2 separate regions of the Homo sapiens genome follow, and region 1 is linked to region 2. The links are contacts of gene promoters, found by promoter capture Hi-C in blood cells and fetal thymus (Javierre and others, 2016). All regions are on one chromosome and are shown on one strand. The core of a region is centred on a gene start or on the middle of the fragment in contact, and the rest is flanking DNA. Distances in the headings are between cores, read along the strand shown. Region 1 overlaps SIPA1L3 (signal induced proliferation associated 1 like 3). Region 2 holds the start of IRGC (immunity related GTPase cinema).

Region 1 (5,167 bases), core at 2,333-4,832, 5.7 Mb after region 2:
TGTATATTGTGCCACAATAAAAGTTTTAAATGGTTAATTTTGTGTTATGTACATTTTATCATATTTTATCATAATAAAAAAGTACTAAAAAACTGCAGGGCCAGGCACGGTGGCTCATGCCTGTGATCCCAGCACTTGGGGAGGCCAAGGCGGCAGGATTGCTTTGAGCCCAGGAATTTGAGACCAGCCTGGGCAACATAGCAAGACCCAGTCTCTACGAATAATAAAAACCATTAACCAGGCATGGTGGCACATGCCTGTGGTCATAGCTATTTGGGAGGCTGAGGCAAGAGGATCACCTGAGCTAAGAGGCTGAGGCTGAAGTGAGCTATGATTGTTCCCACTGCACTCCAGCCTGGGCAACAGGGCAAGACCCTGTCTCAGAATTTTTTTTTTAAGTTTTAAAAAATGTGGTTCTTTTGCAAGATCAGAAGAACCACAAAAGAATTAGAGTTCTTTCATCTCAAGAGAAAGGTGGGAGAGAAGATAAATATCTAGAACAAGTCTGGGCAGGCGGAAGAATGGAGTTTGAGGGATCATCTTTGATATCAAGAACTTTCTAGGTAGAAATTTAATAGGCCTCAAGTACACCTTAAGGAAGGGTGGGGTGCAAACGTCTCTGGACACTCAAACATTAAGCAGAGAGCTTTATTCTGAAGTAACTCCACCCAACCTCCCCAGAAGCCAAGCTCACATGATTCCTTAACTTTTTAACATTTTTCCTGTTTATGAAAGTAGTATATATATATGTGATATATATGTGATATATATATATGTGTGATATATGTGTGATATATGTGTGTGATATATATGTGTATATGATTGATGTGTTATATATATGTGTGTTATATATGTTATATATGTGTTATATGTGTGTTATATGTTATATATGTTATATATATGTTATATATATGTTATATATATATATATAACATATATATATATATAAAAAACTTGGAACATAAATGTACAAAGAAGATTATAGAGTTACTCATTCTCTCCCCACCAAAGGGCAACCACTGTTAAGACATTGGTTCATTTCCTTCCAGTCTTTTTTTTCCCAGCATGTATATAGAGAAGTGGGGAAGAGACATTTTCTCTCTTTAAAGTCTTTTGCATGACCAAGCATGAGGAGGAAAAAAAAAAAAAAAGTCTTTTGCCCCTGCTTTCCTAGGAGATTTTGAACATCGAGTGAAAAATAACATTTTTCAACGATGAAATTAAGCCTATTTCCTCAAACCATGGACTGCTGGGGAGAAAAGTGCTTCCCTCTTCCTCTCCTCTAATTTCTGCTTCCATCTGAACCACTATTTATAAACCGAGGTTCTTTTTTTTTTTTTTTTTTTTTTGAGACAGAGTCTCACTCTGTGCACTCTGTTGCCCAGGCTGGAATGCAGTAGCGTGATCTAGGCTCACTGAAACCTCCGCCTCCTGGGTTCAAGCGATTCTCCTGCCTCAGCCTCCAGAGTAGCTGGGATTATAGGCACCCACCACCACGCCCAGCTAATTTTTTTAATTTTTAGTAGAGACAGGGTTTCACCATGTTGGCCAGGCTGGTGTCAAACTCCTGACCTCAGGTGATCCACCCGTCTCGGCCTCCCAAAGTGCTGGGATTACAGGTGTGAGCCACCACACCTAGCTGACCAAAGGTTCTTAATCCTAACTGTGCATGCCCATTACAACAGGATATGATAATACTGTCATAGCCACTATTAATTGAGGAACTACTACAGAAGAGGCAGTTTCAAACACTTAAAAAACAGTATCTAATTTAATCCTTAAATCCTACGAGGCAGGTACTATCATCATTTTACAAATGAGCAAACTGAGGCACAGAGAGGTTACGCAACTTTCTCAAGGTCACAAGTGTTAGTGGGGGTGGTGGGATTTGAATCCAGGGCATCTGGCCCCAGGTACCTTCTTTCCCCTGGTCCACACTGTTCAAGACCCTGGCAATCATGACCAACTATAAGCTTCATTCAGGGCTAGGTTCCCAGTGTCCCTATCGCCAGGTTTGTCATGATTTTTCATACTCCTCTCCAGACTCATCCTGTTTCCTAAAGGAAATGAGAAATTGCTGGAATTCAGCAGAAGTGAGACAGCCGGAAGCTACAGCTGACCACACGCACACGTGGGTCTCCCACTGGGCTACCCAAGAAACATTCTTAAACGATGACCTTTCTGGAGCAACCAGGGGTCAGTTCCTGGGTGGATCGCCCGCCCGGACTGAGACCCACCCAGTGCCAGATGGACTGCGGAAGCCCCTCCCTAACGTCCACAGGCAGCGGAATGAAGAGCACGTTCAGCGCTGGAAAACCCAGCCCACCACTCACTTCCATGTGCAACTAGAGAGAAGGCTGGGGCGGTTGCCTGTTTAACAAGGATGGGCAAGACTGCTCATGTGCGTCCAGGAGCGGGGCTGGAGTTAATATTTAGTCATTGTGGAAGATTGGCCAGTTACGTTTTTGCCGTCATCACACAGGTCCCTGGAGAAGAGCAGCTTGTGGCTCCCTCCACCCCATGGTAAAACCAGGCCCAGCAGTGAAAGGGATCCCAGGAGTCAGTCACTGGGGGGTTTGGTCTCCTCCTCCTCAGCAGGAAAGAGATGAGAAATTGATGCTTTGGCCTGAAATCCACTATCTGTCCAGTTGCTGAACCAGAAAAGGTCTCCTCACAAAGGGGATGAACGAAGAACTGCAAGGTGGTCATTTACCCATCGCCACCCTGGCTCAGGACCTTCCCAACTGTCTGTGGGCAGCAGGATCGCAGTGCTTTTCATGGTCACACAATTTTTAGTCTTTGTGTGTGTGTGGGTGTGTGTGTGTGTGTGTGTGTGTGTGTGTGTGATAGATAGGGCTGGTTTTTGTTCTGTTAACATGCTAAAAAAAAGTAGGGAGTAAGGTACAATGAACTCCCTTGTACCCAAACCTAGATTCAAAAATTGTCAAGATTCTGCCATATTAGCTTCATCTATTCTTTATTTCTTCCTTTTCCCCCCTTTTCCTTCTTACCAAAGTATTTTATTGTATTTATTTACTTTTGGACAGGGTCTCACTCTGTCTTCCAGGCTGCTACAGTGGTGTGATCTTGGCTCACTGCAGCCTCAACCTCCCAGGCTCAAGTGATCCTCCTGCCTCAGCCTCCTGAGTAGCTAGGACCACAGGCATATCCCACCATGTCTGGTTAATTAATTTATTTTTACTTTTAGTAGAGATGAGGTCTTGCTATGTTGCGCAGGCTGATCTCCAACTCCTGAGCTCAAGCAATCCTCCCACCTTGGTCTCCCAAAGTGCCGGGAATACACATGTGTGGCACCACACCCGGCCTGAAGTATTTTAAAGCAAATGCCGGATATCATGTCATTTCAACTTTATGCGTTTCGGTTTGCAGCTCTGAAAAACATGGACATTTTCTTACATGTCCATAATATTAGGCTGGTTCCATTACCAATCAAAATTACTATGTCCTACCACATACTCCTGGAAAAAATTACTATGAATTCTTTCCTAGAAGATAAGACACAGGGCTGGCTGAGGAACAGGGAAATGGGTCATCTCAGCCTGCAGTAACAGAGTAATGCTTTTCTGGAGGGACTCTAGGCGATACAAATCCAAAAAGGTTTAACAAGCCGTGAGTCGCTTCTGACTCAGATTTTCCATTCATGCACTCATCAAAAGAATATTTACTGATGTCTACCATGTGCCTGGCAGTGCCCTAAGCATTCTTCTCTCTGGTACAGATGTGGAAACTAAGGCACAGAGAGGTAAAGCTACTTGCCCAAGGTTATCTAGCTCTTACCAGCTGGGGCTGGGATTTGAATCCAAGCAGCCCAAGTTTAAATGGCAACACCAGGTCCTGGCAAGGTGCCATTTGGGGCCTTCTACCAATTGGGAGACCAGTGCTCTAGGTTCCAAAGAGCACTCTCTCTCTCTCTTTTTCTTTTCTTTTTTTTTTTTTTTTTGAGATGGAGTCTCGCTCTGTCGTCAGGCTGGAGTGAAGTGGCACAATCTCAACTCACTGCAACCTCTGCCTCCCAGGTTCAAGCGATTCTCCCGCCTCAGCCTCCGGAGTAGCTGGACTACAGGAGCGCACCACTGCGCCCAGATAATTTTTGTATTTTTAGTAGAGACGGGGTTTCACCATGTTGGCCAGGATGGTCTCGATCTCTTGACCTCGTGATCCACCTGCCTCGGCCTCCCGAAGTGCTGGGATTACAGGCATGAGCCAACGTGCCCGGCCTTTTTTTTTTTTTTTTTTAATGAGACAGTCTCACTCTGTTGCCCAGGCTGGAGTGCAGTGGCACAATCTCAGCTCACTGCAACCTCCATCTCCTGGGTTCAAGTGATTCTCGTGCCTCAGCCTCCCGAGTAGCTGAGACTACAGGCATATGCTACCACGCCTGGCTAATTTTTGTATTTTTAGTAGAGATCGGGTGTCACCATGTTGGCCAGGCTGGTCTCGAACTCCTGACCTCAAGTGATCCGCCTGCTTCAGCCTCCCAAAGTGCTGGGATTATAGATGTGAGCCACCGTGCCCGGCCCAAAGAACATTCTCTAACTGTACTGGTGAATGCCTACCATGTGGAATCTTCCCAAACCCTATGTATGAGGCAGGGAAGATTGTATTAGTCCCACTTTTCAGACAAGGAAACTAAAGTACAGAAGACGAAGGTATCTATTAAAAGTTGCACATGTACTTGTGGATATTATGTTGTGTATCTAGCATCTCTACCTCATCTTCCCCCACCCACTCCCAAATACCACCTTCTTGGATAGGCATACAACCCAAATGGAATATTCCCTGGGGCTAGTATAAAAACACTGAGGATTGGCCGGGCACGGTGGCTCACGCCTGTAATCGCAGCACTTTGGGAGGCTGAGACGGGTGGATCACCTGAGGTCAGGAGTTCGAGACCAGCCTGGCCAACATGGTGAAACCCCGTCTCTACTAAAAATACAAAAATTAGCTGGGCGTCGTAGTGGGTGCCTGTAATCCCAGCTACTTGGGAGGTTAAGGCAGGGAGAATTGCTTGAACCCAGAAGGTGGAGGGTGTAGCGAGCTGAGATGGCACCACTGCACTACAGCCTAGGCAACAGAGTGAGACTCTGTCTCAAAAAAATAAAATAAAATAAAATACAGAGGATGGCAGTGGAGGATTGTGGAGATG
Region 2 (4,981 bases), core at 280-2,779:
CCCAGACCCGGAGCCAGACTGCCTGGGATCAAATCCTGGCTCCACCACATACTTACTGAGTGATGTGAGGCAAGTTACTTAACTCTCTCCTCACTCTCCTCATCTGAACACTGAGAATGATACCTACAATCCTGGCAAACCACCTCCTAGGATCTCTGTGACTTGAATGAGTTATGACATAAAGCAGCCCATAAAACGGCGCCTGGCTCAGGGCAGGTGCCTCGTGTCATTGGCATCACCATCATCGTCATTATTCTTATCATTAGTAATATTCTTAGCTGTGTGACTTTGAGCAAGTCCTCGCCCTGTCTGAGCCTCAGCTGCCCCGTGGGGGATACTCCTCCCCACCTCGCAGGGCTGCTGTGATGCCCACAAACCCCGTTCAGCTAGCCCTAGGCTGACTTTGGGTTCAGACGCCCTTGGGTTCGGGAAGCCAGACATGGGGACCACCTGGACACCAGGAGTCATTTCCATGAAACCCCACCCCTGCCATGGCAGCCCTTGCCTCCCGGGGTTCAGTTCCCCTCCCACCGCCCAGAGCTCCTGTCGTGATGGTCCCCCCTCAGATCCCTCCTCCTCACCAGGAGCTTCCCTGGTCCTCCCTCTTCCCACTCACCCTCCTCTGGCCCATCATCTCTAAAATACATTTACTCACTAAGGGTCTTCAGGGTGCCCTGGGAGAGCTGCTCATGTCTGGGATCACTGTCCCCATTTGACAGGGAGAAGGACTGAGGCTCAGACAAGACAAATGAGGTCTCCTCATCCAGAGGCATAGCCAGGACCCCAACCCAGGTCCCCAGGCTCCTTCACCCACCTAGAGAGCTACTCTCCCTTCAGCTGCATGTCCCTGCCTCCTGCATTGTCTCCTTGCCCCCTGCACCCCGTCTCTTCACCTCCTACCACTCACCCCATCCTCTGCTACCCCACTCCACCCCCCACAGAAATATGTCCTTAAGACATTGTTCCCGGCTGGGCATGGTGGCTCACGCCTGTAATCCTAGCACTTTGGGAGGCCGAGGTGGGTGGATCACTTGAGGTCAGGAGTTCGAGACCAGCCTGGCCAACATGGTGAAACTCCATCTCCACTAAAAATACAAAAATTAGCCAGGTGTTGTGGCGCATGCCTGTAGTCCCAGCTCTTGAACCCAGGAGGCGGAGGTTGCAGTGAGCCAAGATTGCACCACTGCACTCCAGCCTGGGCGACAGAGCGAGACTCCGTCTCAGAAAAAAAAAAAGGAAAAAAAAAAGACATTGTTGCCTCCAGATCTGAGCCTCCTATCCTGGGTGTGCCCTCTCCCTAGTATGGTCTGCGGTGGGAAGAGTAGGAACCTGGAACAGGTCCTGGCAGCAAGGGGCAGACAAGTCAGTGGTTGGAATTTGGGCTGAGGGGGTCCGGATTAGACCATAAGCTCCTGCTCCGCCCACGCACAGGGGCCCAGCGAGAGAGCCCTGGGGGACTCACCTGCCCTGCAGGCTCTCCCTCTCCCCTCACACTCTCCCCACTGATAGGATCTCCTTCCCTCTTAGCCAAGGTCAGACACCGTTGCTAGGACCCATTATCATAGCAAGCAGCAGCTTATTGGTCAGCCAGACCTGGTGCAATAATGCGACAGTGATGTCAGGGGGTGGGGCCCGGAGGTGGAGCAGGGACCCCAAGCCCCAGCTGCTCATGGGGTCACCACCCACTCACACTGGGCCCTCCAGTTCCCCTGAAGACTCCAGAGAGATCTTTCTAACACCAAGACCTGTTCAAAATCCTCCATGGTCTCCATCACCCCCCAAGGACAAAGTCTCAGATTCACAGATTGGTTTCCAAGGGCTTGGCCCTGCTACCACTCCACCCTCCACCCAGGGGACTGTCAGTTCCCCAGAGAAGTGTGAAAGTTGATGATACAAATTCGGTCATTGCTGGTGGGCACAGTGGCTCACGCCTGTAATGCCAGCACTTTGGGAGGCCGAGGCGAGTGCATCACTTGAGGCCAGGAGTTTGAGATCAGCCTGGGCAATGTGGTGAAACTCCATCTCTACTAAAAATACAAAAATTAGCCAGATGTGGTGCATGCATGTAGTCCCAGCTACTCGGGAGGCTGATCTGCTATCTTGTAAGCCCAATAATTTAGTCATTGATTTCTTTTTTTTCTTTTTTTGAAACAGTGTCTTGCTCTGTCACCCAGGCTGGAGTGCAGTGACACAATCTTGGCTCACTGCAACCTCCGCCTCCTGGGTTCAAGTGATTCTCCTGCTTCAGCCTCCTGAGTAGCTGGGACTACTAGCATGCACCACCAGGCTTGGCTAATTTTTTTTTTTTTTTTTTTTTTTTAGTAGAGGTGGGGTTTCACCATGTTGCCTAGGCTGGTCTTGAACTCCTGACCTCAGGTTATCCGCCTGCCTCGCCTCCCAAACCTCCTGACCTCAGGTTATGCCGCCTCCCAAAGCGCTAAGATTACAGGTGTAGCCACTACACCCGGCCCCTTCTTGTCCTTTATAAGTGTCTCTGTCCTGTCTCCCCTCCGGGCTTCCTCTCTGCCCAGGCCAGGCTCCACAGGGCCTTCTCCATTCTCCTCTTGTAGGGAATTTACAATAACGCTACTCAGAGGATTTTCCTGACCATCTGCAGGCCAGTTCTGGAAAGGAGCCTCTGAGAACAACTAAGGAGAGAGAGGCCCAGAAGGGGAATAGACTAGCTCAGAGCCACCCTGAGAGCTGGGGAAGAGTGGGCTGTTGGCCGCATAGTACAGAGTTCTTAAGCCACAGGTGAAAGGGAGGTGCAGGGCAAAAGACACACGACTCACTCATGCTCTCACTGACTGACACAAACACACAGAGCTGAAGAGAGTGAACAACATGGTTCTCAGACTTCCCCGGACACCGAGCACACAGACCAGCAGACAGCAAGGACTCCTTCCCAAAATGCATGGACACGCACCCCTGGCCCAAGAGAGAAGGGAAAGACACAGAAAGAGCCTCAAATACAGAGTTACTTCGTGGCTGGGCATGGCGGCTCACTCACGCCTGTAATCTCAGCAATTTGGGAGGCCGAGGTAGGAGGTTTGCTTGAGCCCAGGAGGTTGAGACCAGCCTGGGCAACATAGCAAGACCCTATCTCTTTTTTTTTTTTTTTTTTTTGAGACGGAGTCTCGCTCTGTCTCCCACGCTGGAGTGCAGTGGTGCAATCTCGGCTCACTGCAAGCTCCGCCTCCCGGGTTCCTGCCATTCTCCTGCCTCAGCCTCCCGAGTAGCTGGGACTACAGGCGCCTGCCACCGCGCCTGGCTAAATTTTTTTGTATTTTTTAGTAGAGACGGGGTTTCACCGTGTTAGCCAGGATGGTCTCGATCTCCTGACCTCGTGATCCGCCCACCTCGGACTCCCAAAGTGCTGGGATTACAGGCGTGAGCCACCGTGCCTGGCCAAGACCCTATCTCTTAAAAAAAAAAAAAAAATGAGCCAGGTATGATGGTGCACATCTGTAGTCCCAGCTACTCAGGAGGCTGAGGTGGGAGGATTGCTTGAGCCCAGGAGTTCAAGGCTGCAGTGAGCCGTGATCATGCTACTGCACTCCAGCCTGGGTGACTGAGCAAGATTCTGTCTCTAAACGAAACAAAACAACAGAGTCACTGAAGGAAAGCAAGACTCAGACAAACACACACTTACCAAAGCCTCGCAAACACACACATTCCGGGACACAGATGTGCAGACTTTAAGAGACACAGTTACACACTGACAACATATACAGAAACCCCGAAACCCACTGACTCCATTCAGGAACCTCATTCATTCTGCTGCAGCAGCTAGGGCTCCAGAGATGCATCAAACCCAGGCACTGCTTCAGGGGCTCCAGGCCCGAGAAAATGGAGATTATTGCAGCCCAGGATGATTGTGGACCAAGAAAGAGAGCCACTGCCACCTGCACACATGCACCGATGCAGACTGGCATGTTCCCAGGGATGCCCCTAGCAGCTCCTGAGAGCACCAGCCAGAGAGAGAGGGGTTGCACCCTGCCTATCTGCATGCTGGAAACGCAGCAATGGACAAGACAGCCAGGCTCTGCCCCCACAGGACTCAGAGTCCAGTGGTGGAGTCAGATCCATCCCAAGATAATGATGACAGAGGGGGCAGCACTGGGATGGGGGACCCCAGAGGGCTGTGGGAGCACAAAGGAGGAAGCCCGACTCAGCCTGGGAGTCAGGGAGGGCTTCCTGGAGGAGGGGGCACCTGACCTGAGATCCAAAGGATGAGTAGGAGTGAGCCAGATGGCACATTAGGGAGTTGCATCCCAGGCTAAGGGACCAGCCTCTGCAAAGAACCTGAGTTGAGAGAGAACTTTCATTCGTTCAATAATAAACTCAATTTCAGGCACACCTCATTTTATTGCATGCAGCTTTATTGTCCTTCACAGATACTATGTGGTATTTTTTGCGGGGGGGCGGGGATGTGGTGGAGAAGAGGGTCTTGTTCTGCCACCCAGGCTGGAGTGCAGTGGCGTGATCTCTGCTCACTGCAACCTCCACCTCCTGGGCTCAAGCAATCTCTACTACCTTTGCCTCCCAAGTAGCTGGGACCACAAGCACGCGCCACCATGCCCAACTCTTGTTTTATTTATTTATTTATTCATTTATTTATTGAGACGGAGTTTTGCTCTTGTTGCCCAGGCTGGAGTGCGTGGTATGATCTTGGCTCGCTGCAACCTCCACCTCCCAGGTTCAAGGGCTTCTCCTACCTCAGCCTCCCGAGTAGCTGGGACTACAGGCATGCGCCACCATGCCCGGCTTGTTTTGGTATTTTTAATAGAGATGGGGTATTGCTATCTTGGCCAGGCTGGTCTTGAACTCCTGGCCTCAAGTGATCTTCCCGCCTTGGCCTCCCAAAGTGCTGGGATTACAGGCATGAGCCACCCCGCCTGGCCTGATACTATGGTTTTTACAAATTGAAAGTTCGTGGCAACCCTGTGTCCAGCAAGCCCGTTGGTGCCATTTTTCCAAC

What was found. The method cuts DNA at HindIII sites, captures the fragments that hold promoters and counts their contacts. A CHiCAGO score of 5 or more calls a contact.
Region 1: a contact is called between a fragment that was not itself captured here and the fragment with the promoter of IRGC in region 2, in 1 of 17 cell types (naive CD8 T cells). The highest score is 6.5, in naive CD8 T cells.

The regions. Positions count from the first base shown.
Region 1 is chr19:37,996,659-38,001,825 of GRCh38, reverse strand. The region is part of intron 1 of SIPA1L3 (signal induced proliferation associated 1 like 3); the gene reads right to left. Among named protein-coding and RNA genes, the nearest start is that of SIPA1L3, 92 kb to the right of the region's middle. RefSeq lists an enhancer at 1,644-2,843. The HindIII fragment of the contact is 3,213 bases long and covers 1,976-5,167 here.
Region 2 is chr19:43,712,624-43,717,604 of GRCh38, reverse strand. It overlaps IRGC (immunity related GTPase cinema), which reads right to left and starts at 1,529. Exons shown (of 2, transcript NM_019612.4): 1 at 1,463-1,529. RefSeq lists an enhancer at 1,056-1,556. The HindIII fragment of the contact is 15,065 bases long and covers 1-4,981 here.